Linked DNA regions of Homo sapiens: region 1 is linked to region 2. The links are contacts of gene promoters, found by promoter capture Hi-C in human tissues and cell types (Jung and others, 2019). All regions are on one chromosome and are shown on one strand. Each heading gives the region's core, a stretch centred on a gene start or on the middle of the fragment in contact. The rest is flanking DNA. Distances are from core to core; before and after follow the strand shown. Region 1 has its middle 410 kb from the start of MIR5702. Region 2 holds the start of IRS1 (insulin receptor substrate 1).

Evidence for each region. The method cuts DNA at HindIII sites, captures the fragments that hold promoters and counts their contacts. A contact is called where the count stands out against the background at its distance.
Region 1: a contact is called between a fragment that was not itself captured here and the fragment with the promoter of IRS1 in region 2, in 1 of the 25 tissues and cell types used here (heart left ventricle).

What each region holds. Positions count from the first base shown.
Region 1 is chr2:226,246,501-226,249,919 of GRCh38, reverse strand. No RefSeq gene overlaps it. Among named protein-coding and RNA genes, the nearest start is that of MIR5702, 410 kb to the left of the region's middle. The HindIII fragment of the contact is 5,391 bases long and covers 1-3,419 here.
Region 2 is chr2:226,797,965-226,801,123 of GRCh38, reverse strand. It overlaps IRS1 (insulin receptor substrate 1), which reads left to right and starts at 1,304. Exons shown (of 2, transcript NM_005544.3): 1 at 1,304-3,159. The coding sequence starts at 2,386. It also overlaps a transcript of RHBDD1 not described here. RefSeq lists silencers at 936-1,005, 1,026-1,445, 2,436-2,485. The HindIII fragment of the contact is 12,102 bases long and covers 1-3,159 here.

The DNA.
Region 1 (3,419 bases), core at 454-2,953, 550 kb after region 2:
TTAGCAAATGCAGTGAATACATTCTCCATGGCAGTTTGGCAGATGCCTCAACCGTGACATTTGCCTTTTATAGATTAAGAAAAGAAGGTGTCCCCTTATGAGCTGCCTGTGCTAAATCCCCTGACACATTTATTTTCGATTTATTGCATATTAGATTTCAGGTTTTTAATTTGCATGTTTCTGGCAAAGTGTCAGAAGGTTGTGTCTTAGCACGTGTCTAGAGTTGTATGTACATAAAACACAGGCAAATTCAATAGGTAAAGCTCAAAGAAGGAAACAAAGGGCACGTCTAATTGTTTAACCCAAATCATTTCGCTTTTTCTGCTGGATGTGTCAGAATATAAAGTGGCATCATTTAAAAAATACTCTAGATTATTTCTGAGGTTGTCCATTGATATTTTTGTTTCTTTACACCTAAATTAAAAGCAATGTCTGACTTTTAACAGCACATTTTTTAACAAAAAATACATAACACATACAAAATAGAAGCTTGTTTTATAATTCAGATCAGTTTTCAGATTGTGTTATGATGAATACAACCAGAAAATTATGAATAAATTCCTTCTAACAGGGCCTTCATTAAAACTGCTCGTAAAGCAGGATCTTTCCTCTTTACTATTCAGTTCACAAACACTGTTTTTAGACAATAAAAACCATACAATATAATTATGTACTTTGTCTGAAATATTTTATTAATTAAATAATAGGTTTAGATGACTGAATTCTAGCAAACCTCTGCCACTTGTAACCCAACAATCTGTGTCAGGCATGCATAGCCCCTCAGAGGCTCAGGTTTCCTCAACTGGAAAAGGGCATAATAATAACTAAGTTAAAAGCTGGCTTGTGGACTTGTTAAGGGAATTGAATAAGAAAATGTATGTGGAACTGGTTGGTAAATTCTATAGCACTACAAAAAGTACATCCATATGGTAACATAAAAATTAACTAGCACATATTGTAATATAATAATAGACCATAATACCGTATAATCTCATAAACTTAGAGAGTAGCCAGGACTTATAAACATGCTTGTGATTTCAAATACTATCTCCATATATGTCTAAAAATATATTGGCATGTAGTTGTCCAACAGGTTTGTTCTTCAAGAATATTTCTGGATCATTTGTAATTAACATGGATTTTAATTACTATAGTTGCTTGAGTATACTTATAGTTTCAATTTTTAATTTTGTATTTTGAAATGGCTTTTGCCAGAGTAGCCTTGTTCAATTGGGCTATATAAACATGTAATTATTTATACCAACTCACGTTAGGTTCATAGTTTAAAGACTGCCAATTTTCCACTGTTGTAATTATAGCCATAACAGATCTTAAGTTGTTTGAACTAAACAGTTCACTGTCTTTTAAAATTTGCCTTGTAAGTTATATGTTCATTACATTTTTAAAGGTAAAATTACTATACACACACATCCGTACACACACATATAAATTGTGTATGAGACATGCAATTCTTAAAAAGTTGGTAATTCTGACATTTAATATATGTTTCAGAAACAGTAAATACAACTTTAATTTCAAAATGTTCTTCAGATTTTAAAATAACTTTAATTTCCTTGGATATGAGTACTCTGTAATTAAGTAATCCCTGTTATACAGAAAAAAAGTGTTAGATGTAAATACATAATTCTGCCACCGCAGCTAACAGAAATGTTATCATTAAGTGTTTTCTACATTCTTGAAGAAGTGAGTAAATATTTCGAAGTCTGTCTTTTTTCTTTTTTAATGAAAGAAGCATTAGTCATATTGAATATCCAGTTCTAGCCAGGAAACAGGAAAACACAGAAGACATATTATCAAATACTTCTTGAGGGCAAACTTCTGTTTGTCAACCTTGGCTGCTATGAATGACATTATTAACTAGGGTTCACTATCATAATGCATTTCTTGTAGTTCTCACAGCTCTTAATTCTCTGAGTTGAAATAAATGCTCTTTGCAATAGTATGATTCCCAAGTTGGCCTCTGGTTTTGTAAGTAATTTTTTAATAGATATTTTTCACTTATTCATTCTGTTTGCTTATAGGGCACAGCTAATTTACGATTGTTCTGATCTAGTTCTGAACCTGGTATGTTGCCTACTACTGAATCATCAAACATAATTCACATATCTATGTCTAGGTAAACACAGCACCCACTGTATTTAGAGTAATGTTTTCACCAGAAGTTCCTGCAAAACTTTATATATAGCAATATGGGATGTTGGCATAAACAGACTTTTCAGGATAGATCAAAGAAGTTTGTGTGTGAGCAAGGAAAGGTTGACATGAAGCATCTCATAGCCAAATACATATGCTAGATTCACTTTCAACCCAAGCCACCTTCAGAATGTGCCAGATTTGGATAAAATTGCCTTTTTTTCCTCTCCAGAGCTTGGCTTCACTTATTCATCTCAAATTTTTCTCAGAACAACTCAACTAAAAACCCCCTAAACAAAATTTATGAGACTCCATAATCACCCTGTGGACAAACCTAATATAGCAGTTTTTCTGAAAACTACTAACCAAAAGGTGAGGAAATGTACCAGAAAAACACTTGTCCATCTGTATGTTTTCCAACATCTCCTAAATGACTTATCTTGATTGTGTATGCTGAATCTTTTGGGAGTACACATAAAAAAATTGACATATATGTAAATGATTTGCAGGCAGAGATGATATTTGTATTTAAATTTGAGCTAATTGTATTCTATCATTTTATTGCCTTACACTCATAAAAGATTACATTTAATTTCTTAAATTCAGATGATTTCAGACTTTGTTCCTGTAAGTAATATTATTTTATTTGAATTGCAAATAGTCACATAATCTCATTTTTAAATTTCAAGCCTGGGGACCCAAAGATTCTCTGAAAATCCAAACAGACATTTAATATGAAGAATGTTTACAGACTTACTAAATCAAATGTTTTTTGGTTACTAAATTTTTTGACAGTGCAAAAAGTTTTTAAGAAAAGAAACTAATTTTTGTGTGTGGCTTTCTTTACACAGCAATGGTGTGTGAAATCAATTGTTAAAGCTCCTTAGTTTCTACATTATAGATTCTGCAGAATGCAGCAAGGTATTTTTAAAGTCAACATCTGTACTTCTTATAGCAAAAGTAAAAGAGACCAGTTTTATCCACCAGTATTAAGCACATTTTTAGTTGTTTAGGAAAAAACTTAAATATATATATATATATATATAATGTAAGTATTCAGATATTGGAATACAGGCAATGAAGTTCTGTAACATTAGAGAAAGATAAAGTAAGCAAGCTAGGTCCTGCAACTGCCCCAGTACTGCCTTGAGATTTTCCAGGGAGGGGAGTGCAAGAAAAACCTATTGGTTACCTGCATTTTGGAGACAGCATCGAAAGGTAGGAGAGGACAAGGAGCTAGAGTTCCCATGACAGAGTAATGGTGA
Region 2 (3,159 bases), core at 55-2,554:
AGGAGGGTCCCGGCGTAGTAAAGGGGCGGCAACCCCAAACGGGCCAGGCATCAAAATGAGACAGCATTAAACCGAGTGACATCTCTGTGGGTCCTTAGTGCCAGGCGAGCAAGCAGGGACAAACTGCTTGTTTATAGGTCGGCTTAAAAAATAAAAAAACTCTGGGGAGCGTTTGTTTGTGGGGAGACTGATACCGCAAGGTGACCCTGAAAGGGGCGCTTCAAGTAGACCCAGGCTGCTGATCTGGTCCACTCATGAAGTAACCATTTTCCTGTACAGTTGAGCTGGCACCATCCTTGTTTTCTCCCTGTTATCCTTGTGGTCAAGGTTAAAAACTTATAGGGTGGTTCAATGGGTGTGGGAGCTGTGTGTGAAACAAACATTTCAGCCAATATTTGCACAGTAGGGTTTTGGCCTTATGAACCCTCTGAAGGTCCCTAACAGCTTTTTAAAGTCACGGATAGACTTCGGAATATGATAAGGGACCTCTCATTTCCCCTCCCCCATGCCCTCAGCCTTAGGTGTGAGTCCCCCCGTCACACGGATGGGCAAGGGGAGCAGGAGAAAAGGTGATATTTACATTTTCTCCCTACTTGATCAGCAACTAATTCCACAGCGCCGGACGTGAGACACTTCCTGGGGATCCCTGTTCTCCTTTTGTAGTGACCATAACTGCCCCCAGTCACTGCCCTTGGGCGTCCCTCTGTTCCTTCCAGGTACCTCACGGCAGCAAATCTGGGGATCCCAAGGTGGAAGGCTGGCCCAGAAGTCCTTTAGAAAAACCTTAAAAAATACAGATCCCCTCACCATGGCCTATCGCCCTGAAGCCGAAATCTAGCTTTTAAATTTCCTGGGGGAAACAGCCTTGACTAGAAACCTCCCTCCCGTGGGTCAGTCTTACCTGATAGGTAAGAGGCAGCCCAGCTCCGGCGCCCCCGCCTCCCCCCGGCCTCCCACTCGGGGCTCTGTAGCCGCAGTGCCCCCCCGTGGCCCCCCACCCTCACTCCTGCGTCTTCCCGAGCTCGCCCCCTCCCGTTTTCCCAGACTCCCCTCGTGCTTTCGGGTAGCCACCCAAACACCCCCGCCTGCGCCCGCCGCGGGGATTCCTGCGGGCCGGGGGCGCCCCGGTTGGCGCGCGTGTAGGGAGGCGCTGCGCCGGAGCTGGCGGCCGCGCAGGGGCGCTGTCCTAGCGCTGCGCCGGGGTCGGCGCGGGCGCCGCTGCAGCACGGCTGGGGGGCGGAGAGGGGCGGGCGCGGGGCGGGCTCGGCCCGGAATGTAGAGACCCGGGCGGGAGCCTCCCGGCGGCGGCTGCCCGGCTGCCGAGCGCGGAGGCTCCGTCACGTGTTTTTCTCCTCCGAGTGAGACGGCGGCGCGGTCGGAGGGGGCCGGCGCGCAGAGCCAGACGCCGCCGCTTGTTTTGGTTGGGGCTCTCGGCAACTCTCCGAGGAGGAGGAGGAGGAGGGAGGAGGGGAGAAGTAACTGCAGCGGCAGCGCCTCCCGAGGAACAGGCGTCTTCCCCGAACCCTTCCCAAACCTCCCCCATCCCCTCTCGCCCTTGTCCCCTCCCCTCCTCCCCAGCCGCCTGGAGCGAGGGGCAGGGATGAGTCTGTCCCTCCGGCCGGTCCCCAGCTGCAGTGGCTGCCCGGTATCGTTTCGCATGGAAAAGCCACTTTCTCCACCCGCCGAGATGGGCCCGGATGGGGGCTGCAGAGGACGCGCCCGCGGGCGGCGGCAGCAGCAGCAGCAGCAGCAGCAGCAACAGCAACAGCCGCAGCGCCGCGGTCTCTGCGACTGAGCTGGTATTTGGGCGGCTGGTGGCGGCTGGGACGGTTGGGGGGTGGGAGGAGGCGAAGGAGGAGGGAGAACCCCGTGCAACGTTGGGACTTGGCAACCCGCCTCCCCCTGCCCAAGGATATTTAATTTGCCTCGGGAATCGCTGCTTCCAGAGGGGAACTCAGGAGGGAAGGCGCGCGCGCGCGCGCGCTCCTGGAGGGGCACCGCAGGGACCCCCGACTGTCGCCTCCCTGTGCCGGACTCCAGCCGGGGCGACGAGAGATGCATCTTCGCTCCTTCCTGGTGGCGGCGGCGGCTGAGAGGAGACTTGGCTCTCGGAGGATCGGGGCTGCCCTCACCCCGGACGCACTGCCTCCCCGCCGGGCGTGAAGCGCCCGAAAACTCCGGTCGGGCTCTCTCCTGGGCTCAGCAGCTGCGTCCTCCTTCAGCTGCCCCTCCCCGGCGCGGGGGGCGGCGTGGATTTCAGAGTCGGGGTTTCTGCTGCCTCCAGCCCTGTTTGCATGTGCCGGGCCGCGGCGAGGAGCCTCCGCCCCCCACCCGGTTGTTTTTCGGAGCCTCCCTCTGCTCAGCGTTGGTGGTGGCGGTGGCAGCATGGCGAGCCCTCCGGAGAGCGATGGCTTCTCGGACGTGCGCAAGGTGGGCTACCTGCGCAAACCCAAGAGCATGCACAAACGCTTCTTCGTACTGCGCGCGGCCAGCGAGGCTGGGGGCCCGGCGCGCCTCGAGTACTACGAGAACGAGAAGAAGTGGCGGCACAAGTCGAGCGCCCCCAAACGCTCGATCCCCCTTGAGAGCTGCTTCAACATCAACAAGCGGGCTGACTCCAAGAACAAGCACCTGGTGGCTCTCTACACCCGGGACGAGCACTTTGCCATCGCGGCGGACAGCGAGGCCGAGCAAGACAGCTGGTACCAGGCTCTCCTACAGCTGCACAACCGTGCTAAGGGCCACCACGACGGAGCTGCGGCCCTCGGGGCGGGAGGTGGTGGGGGCAGCTGCAGCGGCAGCTCCGGCCTTGGTGAGGCTGGGGAGGACTTGAGCTACGGTGACGTGCCCCCAGGACCCGCATTCAAAGAGGTCTGGCAAGTGATCCTGAAGCCCAAGGGCCTGGGTCAGACAAAGAACCTGATTGGTATCTACCGCCTTTGCCTGACCAGCAAGACCATCAGCTTCGTGAAGCTGAACTCGGAGGCAGCGGCCGTGGTGCTGCAGCTGATGAACATCAGGCGCTGTGGCCACTCGGAAAACTTCTTCTTCATCGAGGTGGGCCGTTCTGCCGTGACGGGGCCCGGGGAGTTCTGGATGCAGGTGGATGACTCTGTGGTGGCCCAGAACATGCACGAGACCATCCTGGAGGCCATGCGG